Linked DNA regions of Homo sapiens: region 2 is linked to region 1. The links are contacts of gene promoters, found by promoter capture Hi-C in blood cells and fetal thymus (Javierre and others, 2016). All regions are on one chromosome and are shown on one strand. Each heading gives the region's core, a stretch centred on a gene start or on the middle of the fragment in contact. The rest is flanking DNA. Distances are from core to core; before and after follow the strand shown.

Evidence for each region. Contacts are between HindIII fragments. The CHiCAGO score rates a contact against its expected background, and 5 or more counts as called.
Region 2: a contact is called between a fragment that was not itself captured here and the fragment with the promoter of PDHA2 in region 1, in 1 of 17 cell types (megakaryocytes). The highest score is 5.7, in megakaryocytes.

Annotation. Positions count from the first base shown.
Region 1 is chr4:95,837,483-95,844,840 of GRCh38, forward strand. PDHA2 (pyruvate dehydrogenase E1 subunit alpha 2) reads left to right here and starts at 2,611. Exons shown (of 1, transcript NM_005390.5): 1 at 2,611-3,982. The coding sequence starts at 2,669. The coding sequence ends at 3,835. RefSeq lists enhancers at 670-1,272, 2,128-2,629, 2,630-3,129. The HindIII fragment of the contact is 631 bases long and covers 2,325-2,955 here.
Region 2 is chr4:97,716,143-97,723,500 of GRCh38, forward strand. The region is part of intron 9 of STPG2 (sperm tail PG-rich repeat containing 2); the gene reads right to left. Among named protein-coding and RNA genes, the nearest start is that of STPG2-AS1, 350 kb to the left of the region's middle. The HindIII fragment of the contact is 1,296 bases long and covers 2,743-4,038 here.

The sequences.
Region 1 (7,358 bases), core at 1,361-3,860:
CTGGCATGAATGACTGCTACTATAATCACTGGCTCTTCTTTTATAGGGGTTTTTATTAATTAAATGTAAAGTCTGCCATTGGCCTTATAAGAGTGCTCATCTGTTTTCCTTTAATTTCAAGTAGATTAAAAGTGAGATTTGGTGTTAATTAAAAACTTAGAATTTATGGGGTTTCTAATTGCAAATAACATTTCTGTGGTGAGTACGTAGATGACTTCTTAGTTCTGTTTGGTAATCAACATAGTATTGAACAAGGACAGGACAAAAAATAAATCATTTGAAGAAAAGAACACCATCATTGGCTCTATTGTCCGTGAATAGCTTGAATCCTATCTAGCTGGGGGGCATGTAAGAGGAGAAGCTCAACAGCTCAGGATAAACATTTTACCCTGATGTCTGGAAATTTCATTCTTTCTTTGAAAAATGTAGATGGATTTGGAAGGATAGCAATAAAAGTCAAAAAGTCATTATCAAGATTAATCAGTTTAATTGAAATGCTTCAACATTGTTTGATTTCAGATGTCTATTTTTAAGTTGAATTTAGGATATATAGGGTAACTGATGACCAAGAGGTCTATGGGAGTTTCACATTTTATTATTTATTATCTTAACTAGATCCTGTTGAGAAATTTTTTTTTTTAAAGGACATCTTCTGTGGGAACCCGTAGTACAGATATTTTCCAATTAGCATCTTTGTATGTTCTCTTCTGGCATGAGTCGGGTTTAGGCTTGACACACTGGGCTTTTAAGGGGAGCTCTATCTTTGCAGTCCAGGCTACGTGTGACAAGATTAAATTGGCACACTTTACTGTACAGCTCTTGTGTTCCTGGCAGCACTGGCCTGGCTGATACCTCTGAGAGAAGGCTCAGCTGTCACTCACTGACCCATTAACACTACTGTTCTATCCTGCAGTGTCATTTTTCTCATTCTTATGGAGATAATGCTCCCTGGAGATCTCCAATACCTGGAGGAATGAAAGAGAACAGCAGAGACAGGCTAACTATCAAAGAGGGAGCAAACAACACAGCAAGACCATGAATTCCAACAGTTGAATTTTCAATTGAGTGAAAAGATGAGGCCTATTATGATGGCTGGGTTCAGAAGGTGGGGAGACGATCAAGTTTTAAGAGGTATCTTAACTTTTTAACAAGCTATTTTCTCTTTTCTTCCTGAATATTAAAAGAAGTGCCCAAAATAACACCTGCAACTAGATATAGAGAAGGCAGCTGCTTTGAACATGTAATAGGGACATTTGGGTAAGAATTTATCATTTGCAAATAGGCAATGGATATAAAACAGAGCATGCATTAAGGTGAATGGCTTAATATTCTAAATAAAACAGGATCCCTAGTTAGGGTTGGCTTATTGGGGCACAAAATCGCCTTCCTGGTAAAAGCACAAAAAGAGAGAAATGATATGTGATCTTTGTATCCCTTGGTCTAAGGCTTCTCTTCTCTTGTGATTGAACGGTTTCCAGTGGCATAAGCAAACTCTGTTGCTCTCTTGTAGTCCAAACTGTGTATTGTTTGGTGGGTCACTTTATAAGAAGTAACACTTTCTAATGGTTACTACATAAAAAGGCACTATAAGAACATGTTTCTAGATTTCCTGGACTAAGGCTGGTCCAGTTTGATTGATATGAAAGCAAAATAAATAAATAAATAAATAAATACCACCTGAAAGTCTATGGAAACCTGCTGAAGACATTTTTATAGAAAACCAAAAAGAAAAAAAAGAGGAAATAAACAAAAGGAAGAGCAAAAGTGAAGTAGTCAGAAAATAGGGATAAAACTAGGTAAAAACAGAGATTCAGAATTATTAAACAGAGTAAGGAAAAGTGGAATGTCACAAACTACAAACTTTTTACCACAATCTGCACCTCAACCCTCTCTCCCTGCTTCCAATTTTCCCACACCAAGCAAAGTTTATTACTGGGTTTAAAGTGTTATCCTCAGGCCGAGGTTTGTATACATTTTCCCTCCCCACTTCAAGTGTCACAGGTGCTAGACGCCATCAGGATAAATGTGGCATATTATTTGAGAGTACTGACTTTTCTTTAAAAGGGGTTTTTGTTAACGTGCGTGTGCTTGTTTTGTTTTTAAAGTTAATTAAGCTACAAATAATTTACAGCTTTGTTGTTACCTTAAAATACATATGGCACATTATGGAGCAGGATAAATATTCATACCTATTTTAAAGATCAAAAACAAGACATTAAAGAAATATTGGTAGGAAGAAATACCTTTGGACTAACTCTCAGAACTCTCATGTGCCTTAGGGACTGAGTTTGTTCCTTTCTTCTATTTGATACGCTTGTCGGGAAAGCTTGAGATACAGTGCTCCAGGGTTTAACAGGGAAAAGGGACTCAGATTATTGAGGTTCAGCAATGACGGCGATTAGGATGCCCTGTAGTTTGCCCAAGTCCTCCAGAAAAGGAAATCACTTTTAGTCTTCATTTTACAGCTGGCAGGCACTGTACAAATCAGTCAGCTCAGGCTGCGTGGCCCATGTCCCAGTGCTGTGCAGGACCTGCCTCTATCACCCGTGTGCACTGCCCGGATGGTGCCAAGCGCATTGGAGCACCGGAAGGAGACGCGGAGCCGAGGCCAGGCCTTCCGGCGGTCGTTACGGGACGCCGCTGCCATCTACAGCACTCCGTGAAGAATATGCTGGCCGCCTTCATCTCCCGCGTGTTGAGGCGAGTTGCCCAGAAATCAGCTCGCAGAGTGCTGGTGGCATCCCGTAACTCCTCAAATGACGCTACATTTGAAATTAAGAAATGTGATCTTTATCTGTTGGAAGAGGGTCCCCCTGTCACTACAGTGCTCACTAGGGCGGAGGGGCTTAAATACTACAGGATGATGCTGACTGTTCGCCGCATGGAATTGAAGGCAGATCAGCTGTACAAACAGAAATTCATTCGCGGTTTCTGTCACCTGTGCGATGGTCAGGAAGCTTGTTGCGTGGGCCTTGAGGCCGGCATAAACCCCTCGGATCACGTCATTACATCCTATAGGGCTCATGGTGTGTGCTATACTCGGGGACTTTCTGTCCGATCCATTCTCGCAGAGCTGACGGGAAGAAGAGGAGGTTGTGCTAAAGGAAAAGGAGGATCGATGCATATGTATACCAAGAACTTCTATGGGGGCAATGGCATCGTCGGTGCACAGGGCCCCCTGGGCGCTGGCATTGCTCTGGCCTGTAAATATAAAGGAAACGATGAGATCTGTTTGACTTTATATGGGGATGGCGCTGCGAATCAGGGGCAGATAGCCGAAGCTTTCAATATGGCAGCTTTATGGAAATTACCTTGTGTTTTCATCTGTGAGAATAACCTATATGGAATGGGAACATCTACTGAGAGAGCAGCAGCCAGCCCTGATTACTACAAGAGGGGCAATTTTATCCCTGGGCTAAAGGTCGATGGAATGGATGTTCTGTGTGTTCGTGAGGCAACAAAATTTGCAGCTAACTACTGTAGATCTGGAAAGGGGCCCATACTGATGGAGCTGCAAACCTACCGTTATCATGGACACAGTATGAGTGATCCTGGAGTCAGTTATCGTACACGAGAAGAAATTCAGGAAGTAAGAAGTAAGAGGGATCCTATAATAATTCTCCAAGATAGAATGGTAAACAGCAAGCTCGCCACTGTGGAAGAATTAAAGGAAATTGGGGCTGAGGTGAGGAAAGAAATTGATGATGCTGCCCAGTTTGCTACCACTGATCCTGAGCCACATTTGGAAGAATTAGGCCATCACATCTACAGCAGTGATTCATCTTTTGAAGTTCGTGGTGCAAATCCATGGATCAAGTTTAAGTCCGTCAGTTAAAGGGAGGCTACGTGTGAATTTATCATCAGTCTCTCAATGGAATGTTCATGGTCAAATTTAAGAAACTGTGTTCTCAACTCAAGGAGGAATAAAACTCATAAAACAAAAGCCTTGTAAGCATTTATTAAAAGAGATTATTAAAAGAGATTGAAAGACATGCATTCAATAAAAGTGATATTATATTCAATTATACTGTATATTTTTGCATTAAAAGATACTATATAGGTAACAATTTAGTGTGAATATCTTAAAGATTATTTTGAACTTATACAAGTCTAAAATAGGAAAAGGAGATTATTTAACTTCCCAAACTGTTTGTCATAACAGTTCCATTTGATTTAGCTTTATACTATTTTAATGCATTCTCTTCTTTAAAAGAAAGTTGTTTCCTGCTTCCCCTGCCATGGGTTTCTATGTAGAATCACCATCCTGAGGTAAGGAGATTATTTCAAGCTACTCAGGACACCTATGGATATGTAACCATTTACTTGAATTACCTAATAACGAATACAGTTTAGTGTAACAGTGTGCGCATGCGCACACCCACACACGTGGTGCTGAAGTTTGTTAACACTGACCGTTTTTCCAATAATATATGATATTTAACAGGGCAGGGGAGGAAGAACAAGGATTTTTTTTTTTCATATTATTGTATCTTGTTACAATATTTTTAGTCTTTTAACCCTTAAGGAAAAATATAGCAAAAATTAAAATCTAGGGGAAAAACTGCATTCCGCTTTAATCTTTAAGTTAAAGCTACTCTTATTTTGCAGTTCATTTATGCCCTTATATATTCTAAAATTTAATGGGCCATTCTGGTGAATTTCAGACTGAAAAATGAATAAACAGAGATGGTGATTCAAAGAGTTAAGCAGAGGAGGTGACATTAATAAAAAGTTGAAAGTAAAATCTACCTTGCTTCTTACTAGCTGTTAACCATGCGTTACTAATCACTACATGATCAACTATTTAGTATCTTTTAATGCAACAGAACATTCACAGATAACTTTTTCCAAAGGAACACACAACATGTCTTTTCTGCAGTCCAGCACCATGTCAATTATCAAGTCATGATTTGGTGAAAGCAGTTTTACATGGTTATATTCGACTACTTAAAATCCTGCTGAGCTTGGTGTTTGGTGTATGTTATTTTTCTGAGAGCAGAGATGATAATTTGCCTGTGATTTAAGAATAGTAGGTGGAACATACCAAAACAGTCAAAGGTTAACCCTTTTTCTTTACTGTACAGCATCTACTTCTACAAATAGAACCTAGATTCTAAGAAATAAGAAAACCAAAAGCTCAGAGGCCTGGGAGAAGATGAACATATGTACATATATATACAGGCTTAATCTCCGTATCTTCTCCCAAACAAGTTTAAACAGGTAAGATAACCTAACATTCCGAATTCGGAAAGCAAAGATAAACATTGTTTTGCTTATATGTAAGTGATATTACTAGCTAACATGTTTTGATTAGAACACCGCAGTTGTTCAGAGGTGCTTGGACTGGATTCCTACAATTAAAAACAAAAAAGGATTTTTCATACGACATTCAGAATAATAAGTACATCCTTCTAATGATAAAGAATTCTTTTTATTTTTACATACTGATATTTTCACATATTTGCAAGTGGAAGATAAGCTGCTCAATTAAGGCTATTTTACATATGCAATATACAGAAATAATTTTTAAAGTTTTTCAATAGATTCTTTTGATGACAGCAAAAATTAAGATACAAATAATTGATTAGAAATGAAACCATCCCTAAATCAAGATACATAGATATTGTACTTCACTTCAGGGAAATAATCCAAATTTTGTTGTTAGAGGAATAAAGCATGTTTGTCACAACACAATATATGTTATCAAATTCCATTAAAGAAGGAGGTTTTCAATGTTTTCTATATTAAACAATGTTCAGATTTCTTGCATACATTGAGTAATTATAATCATATCACTGGTTACGCACAATTCTGTAATCATGCAAAACAAAAAAAAGCAACCGAAAAATTCAAACATGTTGTTTTCAATTAGGTCAAGATTTATTGCTTGACTAATGATAGCAATAATTTATCAAGCTGTAAACAAGAGAGGTGTAGAAATCTAGCAATTGGATTCTATTTCTTGTCTATAGTACTGGGTTACTCAATCTGTTTTATCCTCACGTTAAAATACCTACTAAGTTATGATAGTCATAATAAGAATTTCACTGCTGCAGCAAAGCTAGACTATCTGCGAAAAGGAAGAGTTCCTAATTTCTTAATCTTTATGATATGTTATAATGATAAAATATCATGTAGTGTGTGTGGAATGGAATAAGAAAGAAAGGAGCTTAAAGATTTATAAAGGGTATACTAGATTAGAATTACATTTTTTAAAAAAAAAATGGACATGTCTTCCCATCTAGTGTACAAAAACCAGAGCATATGGTTACAAAAATTTAACTTGAAATTTTGTAAGAGCTATGTTTTAAAAATTGAAACATAATTTTATAATTGAAATATAATTTTTACATATGCAATATACAGAAATAATTTTTAAAGTTTCACCCTTCTAAAAGTGCACAAGTCAATGATTTTAGTACATACACAAGACTATGCAATCACCACTGTCTAATTCTAGAATATTTTTATAATTCCCATTTTCAGTCAATCCTATTTCCCCTGGCAACTACTAATCTACTTTTTGTCTCTAGATTTGCCTATTCTGGACATTTCATATAAGCCACACAATATGTTGGTCCTATATGACTGGCTGCTATCCCTTAGCTTAATGTTTTCATGTTTCGTCCATGCTGTAGCATGTATCAGTACTTTAGTCTTTTTATGGCTGAATAACATTTCCATTTTATTTATCCACAAGTTATTGAAGATTTAGAATTTTTTTTCTACTTTTTGACTATTATGAATAAAGTGTTGCTGAGAAAAAATTCAATCACAAAGACAATAACAATTTTCAATGTATTGGCTAATGCAAACAATATCCCTTACGATGCAATCCCTTTTGATTATAAACAAATAATGATGAAGAAAAGTGTTAAAATACTTTAAGCCTGATATTTATCAACTTACATAATCTATTGCTCCAGTTGGATTTAGAATTACAATTTTAGATTTGCATAAAATTTGAGAACAGTATGCAGATGTACCACATGCCCTGCACCCAATTTCCCTTTTATTAACATTTTATATTAGTTTGTGGCAAGGAAAGAGTAAATTCAGCAGGCTTGAGTTACTCAAAGCCTGCACATTTAAGGAAAGACCTCTTTTCACACTCCTGGGAGATAATCTCTGAACACCTTGGAATATTCTACCTGATATGAATGTTTTTGTGAGCCTCAGGCCTTGGGCCATACTATGCCAATATGACCAGATTAGCTTATCTTAATGATGTGTCCCTCTTTTACTCCATTGAGAAGATATACCTGGAAACTTCTGCCTGCTTTCTCTTGAACTTCTCTTCATGTGTCTTTTTCCTTTCCTAATTTTAATTTGTATCCTTTCACTGTAATAAACCATAA
Region 2 (7,358 bases), core at 2,141-4,640, 1.9 Mb after region 1:
ACCATCTCCATCTCATGCCAGTTAGAATGGTGATCATTAAAAAAATCAGGAAACAACAGATGCTGGAGAGGATGTGGAGAAACAGGAATGCTTTTACATTGTTGGTAGGAGTGTCAATTAGTTCAACCATTGTGGAAGACAGTGTGGCAATTCCTCAAGGATCTAGAACCAGAAATACCATTTGACCCAGCAATCCCATTACTGAGTATATACTCAAAGGACTATTAATCATTCTGCTATAAAGACACATGCACACGTATGTTTATTGCAGCACTGTTCACAATAGCAAAGACTTGGAACCAACCCAAATGCCCATCAATGATAGACTAGATAAAGAAAATGTGGCACATATACACCATGGAATACTATGCAGGTATAAAAAAAGGATGAGTTCATGTCCTTTGCAGGGACATGGATGAAGCTGGAAACCATTATTCTCAGCAAACTAACACAGGAACAGAAAACCAAACACCACATGTTTTCACTCAGAAGTGGGAGATGAACAATGAGAACACATGGACACAGGGAGGGGAACATCACACACTGGAGGCTGTGGGGGTGGGGGGTGGAAGGCTAGGGGAGGGATAATAACATTAGGAGAAATACCTAATGTAGGTGATGGGTTGATGGGTGCAGCAAACCACCATGGCACGTGGTGCCTATGGCCACGTGCCATGGTGGTGCCTATGAAACAAACCTGCACGTTCTGCACATGTATCCCAGATCTTAAAGTACAATTTTTAAAAAGGGGTTAAAAATCAGTTAGGAAATTGTCCATTGAAATTTCATGGTTTTAAAATGTCATTTAGAAAGTTTATACATTTATGGAACACATTTTCTCATACTGATTTTATTCTTCAGCTTTACAAATGAAGTAATAGCAAAGAGAAAAGACTAGTACACAAAGAAGTATCATCATCAATGCCAGAGACACATTTAGGTTTAATGCTCTTCCACTACCTCTAAGACTAGATTTGATTAAATGGCACTTCAGATGACCATAGAACTGCACAGTCTATTAAATTGAGCTATAGGTAAGAGAAAAAAGAGTCCCAATACTACACGAATTTTAAACAAAATGTCCATGTTTATTTTTGCCATCCCTTTAAATTATCTGTTCAAAAACCAAAAGGGTATTTCATATTTTAAGAAATAAGATTTTACATGTTCAAGGATATCTTAAAGTTATTACAGAGTATCTGGAAGTTATTGTGTACAAAGCCCCTAAGAAATGAACTATTTTAATGCACTCCAAACTAAGTAGACTGAGAAATTCATCTCCTGGCATCTACCTAAAGCATGCACCTGTTAAAACATGTGTTCCTAGCACTGATTAAGCTATAGGGCTGTCACTGTTATGACATATAAATACAAAGTCATATGGATTTGGCTTGACTGAAATATCTCTTCAGACAGCAATGTCTGTTTATCTGTGTACCTCTAATACATACTTATCAAAATGTACATCCATAAGCCCTGTCAAGTGAAGTCTTTCAACTGCTGCTATAAAAAAGATACTTCCACTCTGTGATAACGTAAATACATTGTAGATAAATTTGAATGACTTTCACCAGTCATAAATGTGGGTGTAATACAGTTTCTGTGTGAATTACAGGAACCAACTGGAAGGAAGGATAATCACCCTTCACCTAAAACCACTTTGAGTAGGCAGTACATAAATATGTAACACATGAATTATTTGTAAGAATGAACAGAATTACCAAATAATAAAATATGAAGTTGTCTTCGAGGTAAACAGAATACTTCACAATTGTCCTGAAATATTAGTGGCAAATTCTCATAATTAAATTTTGGTTTTATACTTCACAGTTCTTACATAAAGGTTTGGAGCCATATTACCAAGAAAATTATCAAGGCAAAAAAGTAGAATAAGTCTCAACATATATTTGAAGTTCCCTTAGATCACCATTCTCAGGGCTAAATTAGCACCACTCTATTTAGCAAGGCATTCCCTCTGTCAAGACTGATACTTATCTCTGGGAATATTACATGTACAAATCAGGATAATGCTAAAACATGTCACATCACAGATGAAGTCACATAAAATCCTTTAAATAAAATACCAACTTTATTTTAAAAATAATTAAAACACTTGATTTAAATAAACTAAATTCTTCACAAACATTAAAGAAAATCACTAATTTATACCATTTAAATTGTGACTATTTTCCATTTTCTCAACTTGTTAAAAATTGTAAGGTTTCTAAATATGTTTGGATTTGAATCTGCTGCTAACATCTTTACCTGTATAGGTCTGCTAGGAAAAAGCTAGAGTCAAAGAGTTTAGAGTTTCCAGAAAGAGGAGCCTACATTATTTATTTAGTGAGAAGCCAATTAAGCAAAGATTAATATTTCATTTACAACTTAAATGAACAAATTCTGTAGCCTAAAGCAAATATATGTTATAGATGAAATGAATGATACAATACTTTTCATGCTTTGATGTCATCAAAATTTTTTTACATTCATTGGATATTAAAAAAGAACTATTAGATTAACCATTGAATATTTCAGTAACCTTTGTCCTCCTTTTTAGTGAACCAAAATCTATATATAGATTTAAATCTAAATAAGAATGCTTTTCTTCACCCTTACAGTATTCTTTGGTCACTATGATCCTGTAATCATGTAATGTAAATATTCTTAACCTTGTTCCTATGTCCTACTAGAATAAGAGACAGCAGACTACTGTGAGAATTCAGCAGCATTCTTCCCTTTCAAAGCTTCTCATCAACTAAGGCTGAATATTCCTAATCCAAAAATCTGAAATCCAAAGTACTCCAAAATCTGAAACTTTTCAAGCATCAACGTGATGCTCAAAGAAAATACTCATTGATACATTTCAGATTTTGGATTTTCAGATTAGGGATGTTGAACTGTTGAGTATAAGTAATGCAAATCTAAGATCCAAAAACTTTGAAATCTGAAACTCTTCTGGTCTCAATCATTTTGGATAAGACTACCACTGGTTAATTACAACCAAGATAACTAACAGTGGAATTTTTTACATTAATAATGTCTACTTTCAAATAATTAAGGGATTCTTCATCTGGCTTTAGTACCTACAGCTCACAGGGTTTATTCACTACCCTTCTATAGCTTTAGAAATGTTACTCCACTGGTCTCTGGCTGAACTTGTTGTAGGGCATGACACATCAGACTAAAAAACAAAAACAATCATATGCAGCATCATATATTTTATGTTGTTCATGGACCACAGACATCAGAATCATCCCAATTAGTGTAAAAATGAAGATTCCTTGGATTCATCCCAAAATAATAAATCATATTCTCTGAAAGTGGGACCAAGAAAACAATTTCAATAAAACCCATTGGTTTTGACCTCTAAACTACAATTTAGTGTGTTGTTGTTCTTAAAAATATTTATACTTTAAATCAGTTTTCTCTCAAATAATCTTGGTAACCAGTGATCCAAACAAAGAATAAACCTTCCGAAATTCTGGATGAGACTATAATTTTCTCTGAAATATATCTGAATCTTATGTGCCTGCCTACGGTAGAGCCTCTATAAATGCTTATTGAGCTGAACTGAACTGAATCAAGAAAGGAAGAATCAATTTATAAGCTACCTAGAATCTACTTCTGTGACTTTAAGCATTTTAACCATTTTCTTGTCATTTTACTTTCTTTTTAGTAATTGTCCATGAAAAGAAATAGATGGATTGAAGTCGCATTTCTATTTATAATATGCAAATAGCATTTAGATGATACATCACATAAATATTTGTAAACATGTTAGAGCAATTGTTACCTGGGAGGAAAGAGATTAACATGAGGCTGGCAGTATTAAGCTAGGAAAAAGACTTTCTTTTCAGTATACATCCTTCACTCAGTATGAATTCTGTTATGTGGATGTCATACTATTTTAATCTTGGACCAAATTGGCAAACTTACTTCATGATAACTGAAGAGGCAATGCTTGCAAGTATATTTTCATCTCTATGTTATTTTAGCCTATTATTTCTAGAATAAATCTTAAACCTAAATTGAAATTCAAGCTTTCTATAGCCATGTGACCTTGATTAATTCTCTAAATCATGCTCACCTTTAGTCTTCTCTTTTGTAATAGAAATTAAAAAAACCAGCTCAGAGAAGTTAAACAACTTTCATAAGCTATAAAATGAGTAAGGATCAAAGTACCTGCTTTTCATCCTTGGAATATCCCTGAGAGGGTAGAAAGGGGAAAATTATTATTTAAACTTCACAGGAAACAGAGTTAAATAGCAGAGCTGTGGCTTCACTTTATGGTTTTAACAGCTCTTTTTACTACTTCATGCTGCCTTCTTAATCTCCATTAGATGTCTCAGCACCTCCAAAACCATCAAATTTGCCAAACAAATATCATATTAATCAAATGACAATGTTATGCTTTTACCACAGCATGACAATTCTCTAAAAGGTGAACTGGGTCTAGGAGATGGAATAAATAAGCATAGTTGATAAATTTAGGGAATTTTTTTTTGAATTAATTACTAATTCACTAGCATACCAAAAATAGAGGTAATTTTTGTTTTACCCATATATTTTAAAAGTTGTAAGTATAAACACATTTAAGGAAAGCACAAATATCACAATTCTAAAAATCAAGTTGTCTTCAAATCTCCATATTACCACACTGCTAGTTGTCAAGGCTGCCACACACTGCTACTTTCAAAGCCTGTTATAAACAACAATAAAACAAATTCTAGAGTTAAATGCTATTTTTCTAGAATCCAATAGCACTACATCCTATCTTTGGGTGAAGGCTGCCTCTCTGTGGTAGAATGCAATGTGACGTCTTCCCTAAGAGACAATCTTCTCCCTCATATTTTTAACTAGAAATCATCTGTATAATATTCAAAAACATACAGATTTAAATACAGTGCCTTAACCATTTCTTTCAGGATTATACTTTTGCCTTCATGTTTAGAAAAATCTTTCAACTGCAAGGAACAGCCTCACTCATTTAGGCAAGCACGTATAGCAAGAGATGAAAACAGCATTTTTTGCTAGTAACAGAAATCAAGTAAAAACGAATTGCTCAAAAAGAACAGTCATGTTTGCTGTCTTTTTTGAAAGCTGAAGTCATTATTCACTTTACACGGAGTGACCTCTGCTGGTCAGAAAGACACATATTAATGGACATCATATCTACCAGAAAGCAGCTGTTATCTTAATTTCCCCAAGTAATTACTCAGATATATTGTGTGTCATAAGAGGAAGTTGGTTATTCACTTACAGTGCAACAATACAGGAGCATATCCTATTTCAAATACTGAAAGTCAAGAAGCAAATATCAAATGGATATCTTTTACAAACATTGAGTTAATTGTTATTTCTTCACTAATGTCCATTGTTAGTTGAAATAAAAGTAGACTCAAAAGGTCTTCTTATTATAAGACTTATTTTGAAAGGAAGTATACTCTATAATAAAAAAAATTAAGATTTTGGTATTTTTAACTATATGATGACCGAAAGCTTAGCATTTGTACACTATTAACTGAAATAAACAAAACATATTTATACAATAAACATATGACTTGTTACAGCTCAGAAGTAAAGAATTTATTTAGCTAAGTAATACAGTTACAAAAATTACATTTACCTTCTCTAAAACAGAACATGGTACACATCAGAAACTGTAAAACCTAATTAGGAGACAGTATCCAGAGACTCAGAGTAAACATTTAAACAACCAATATCAAAATACTCTTTTTAAAACATATATCACTGCAAAAACTGTGCAGATTGTTTTTCTTTATAATTTTAATAGAGGTCACAACCTTTGACATGAAATATATCAATAAAAACACCAAAGAATGTTGCCTACAAAAATTTTTTATTAAGAAAATTATTATATATCCTGATTGCTAATTATCACAATGTCCCCCTCCCCTCCTTTTTTTTTCTTTTTAACAATGTCCAGGAGGGGAAAAAAAAAAAAAGAAGCATATTTGGTCTTTGCTTCAGCAAATACTGAAATCTATTTATATGCAAATAAGCTATCCATGATTAGTATGAGAAAAGACTTGTGTATAAATGAGACATAAATTATCACTAGAAGCCATTAATGAAATCTATTTCAAAACATAACATTTTACAAGAGCCCTCACTCATGTAATATTTGCTTAAGCCTGGAGGGGAAATGGTGAGTTCTACACTTAGATGAAATCTGATACTACATTATTTCCCATGCCAATATGTTTTATAAAATGAATTTATCCTTTCCTTAAAAATGACTGGATAATTGTAACTCCAGTCTTTTTAGAGAACTTCATCATTAAAATCAGAGCCTTATGTGTTTGTCACATAATTGCCACACTTTTTGAGGGGTTTTATTTTGTGTCTGTTAGAATAATTGTCATTCTTTAGGGTTTAAAATGTTAACATTCATTTTGATATTCTACATATATTCATTTTTATATTCTGAATATAAAAATGAATAGATGAGTCTTAAGAGGGAACATGAGTCTTTCTGGAATAAGTTGAATTTCTATTGAAAATAATAAAATAAGCAATAATTAATAGACCTATAAAACACTTTTGTATACTTTTTTCATTTTCTTTTGGGATATCTTGTTTTGTTCTCCTTTACATCATAAATTTCTTTAGTCCATATTTGAGTCTCTGCCAATTTTTTTTTTTTTTTTTTGAGACGGAGCCTTGCTCTGTCGCCCCGGCTGGAGTGCAGTGGTGCGATCTCGGCTCACTGAAAGTTTAGTCTCCCGGGTTCACGCCATTCTCCTGCCTCAGCCTCCTGAGTAGCTGGGACTACAGGTGCCCACCACCACACCCGGCTAATTTTTTTTTTTTTTTTTTTTTGTATTTTTAGTGGAGACGGGGTTTCACCATGTTAGCCAGAATGGTCTCCATCTCCTGACCTCTTGATCCGCCAGCCTCGGCCTCCTAAAGTGCTGGGATTACAGGCGTGAGCCACCGCGCCCGGCCGAGTCCCTGCCAATTTTAAATATTGGAGATATTTCTTCTTTCTGTCATCTACTGAGCTTTTCCTAGGATGCCAAATGTTGAAGAGAAATCCTTCGTTTTAAAATAGTTAAGCTTAGATTTTTTTTTTATAGTCGTTACTTTTGGAGTTTTTAGTAAGAAGTATTTCCCCACTTTCTAGGTTGTAACAGTATTCTCTTAGACACTGAGGACTCCAAAAGGGGGGAGGGAGGGGTTAAGGGTAAAAATCTACTTATTGGATACTGTGTTCACTATTGGGATGACGGATTCAATGGAAGACCAAACCCCACCATTATGCAATATATTCATGCAGCAAACATGCAAGTGTACCCACTGAATCTGATTTCTTTTTAATTAAAAAATCAGTATTC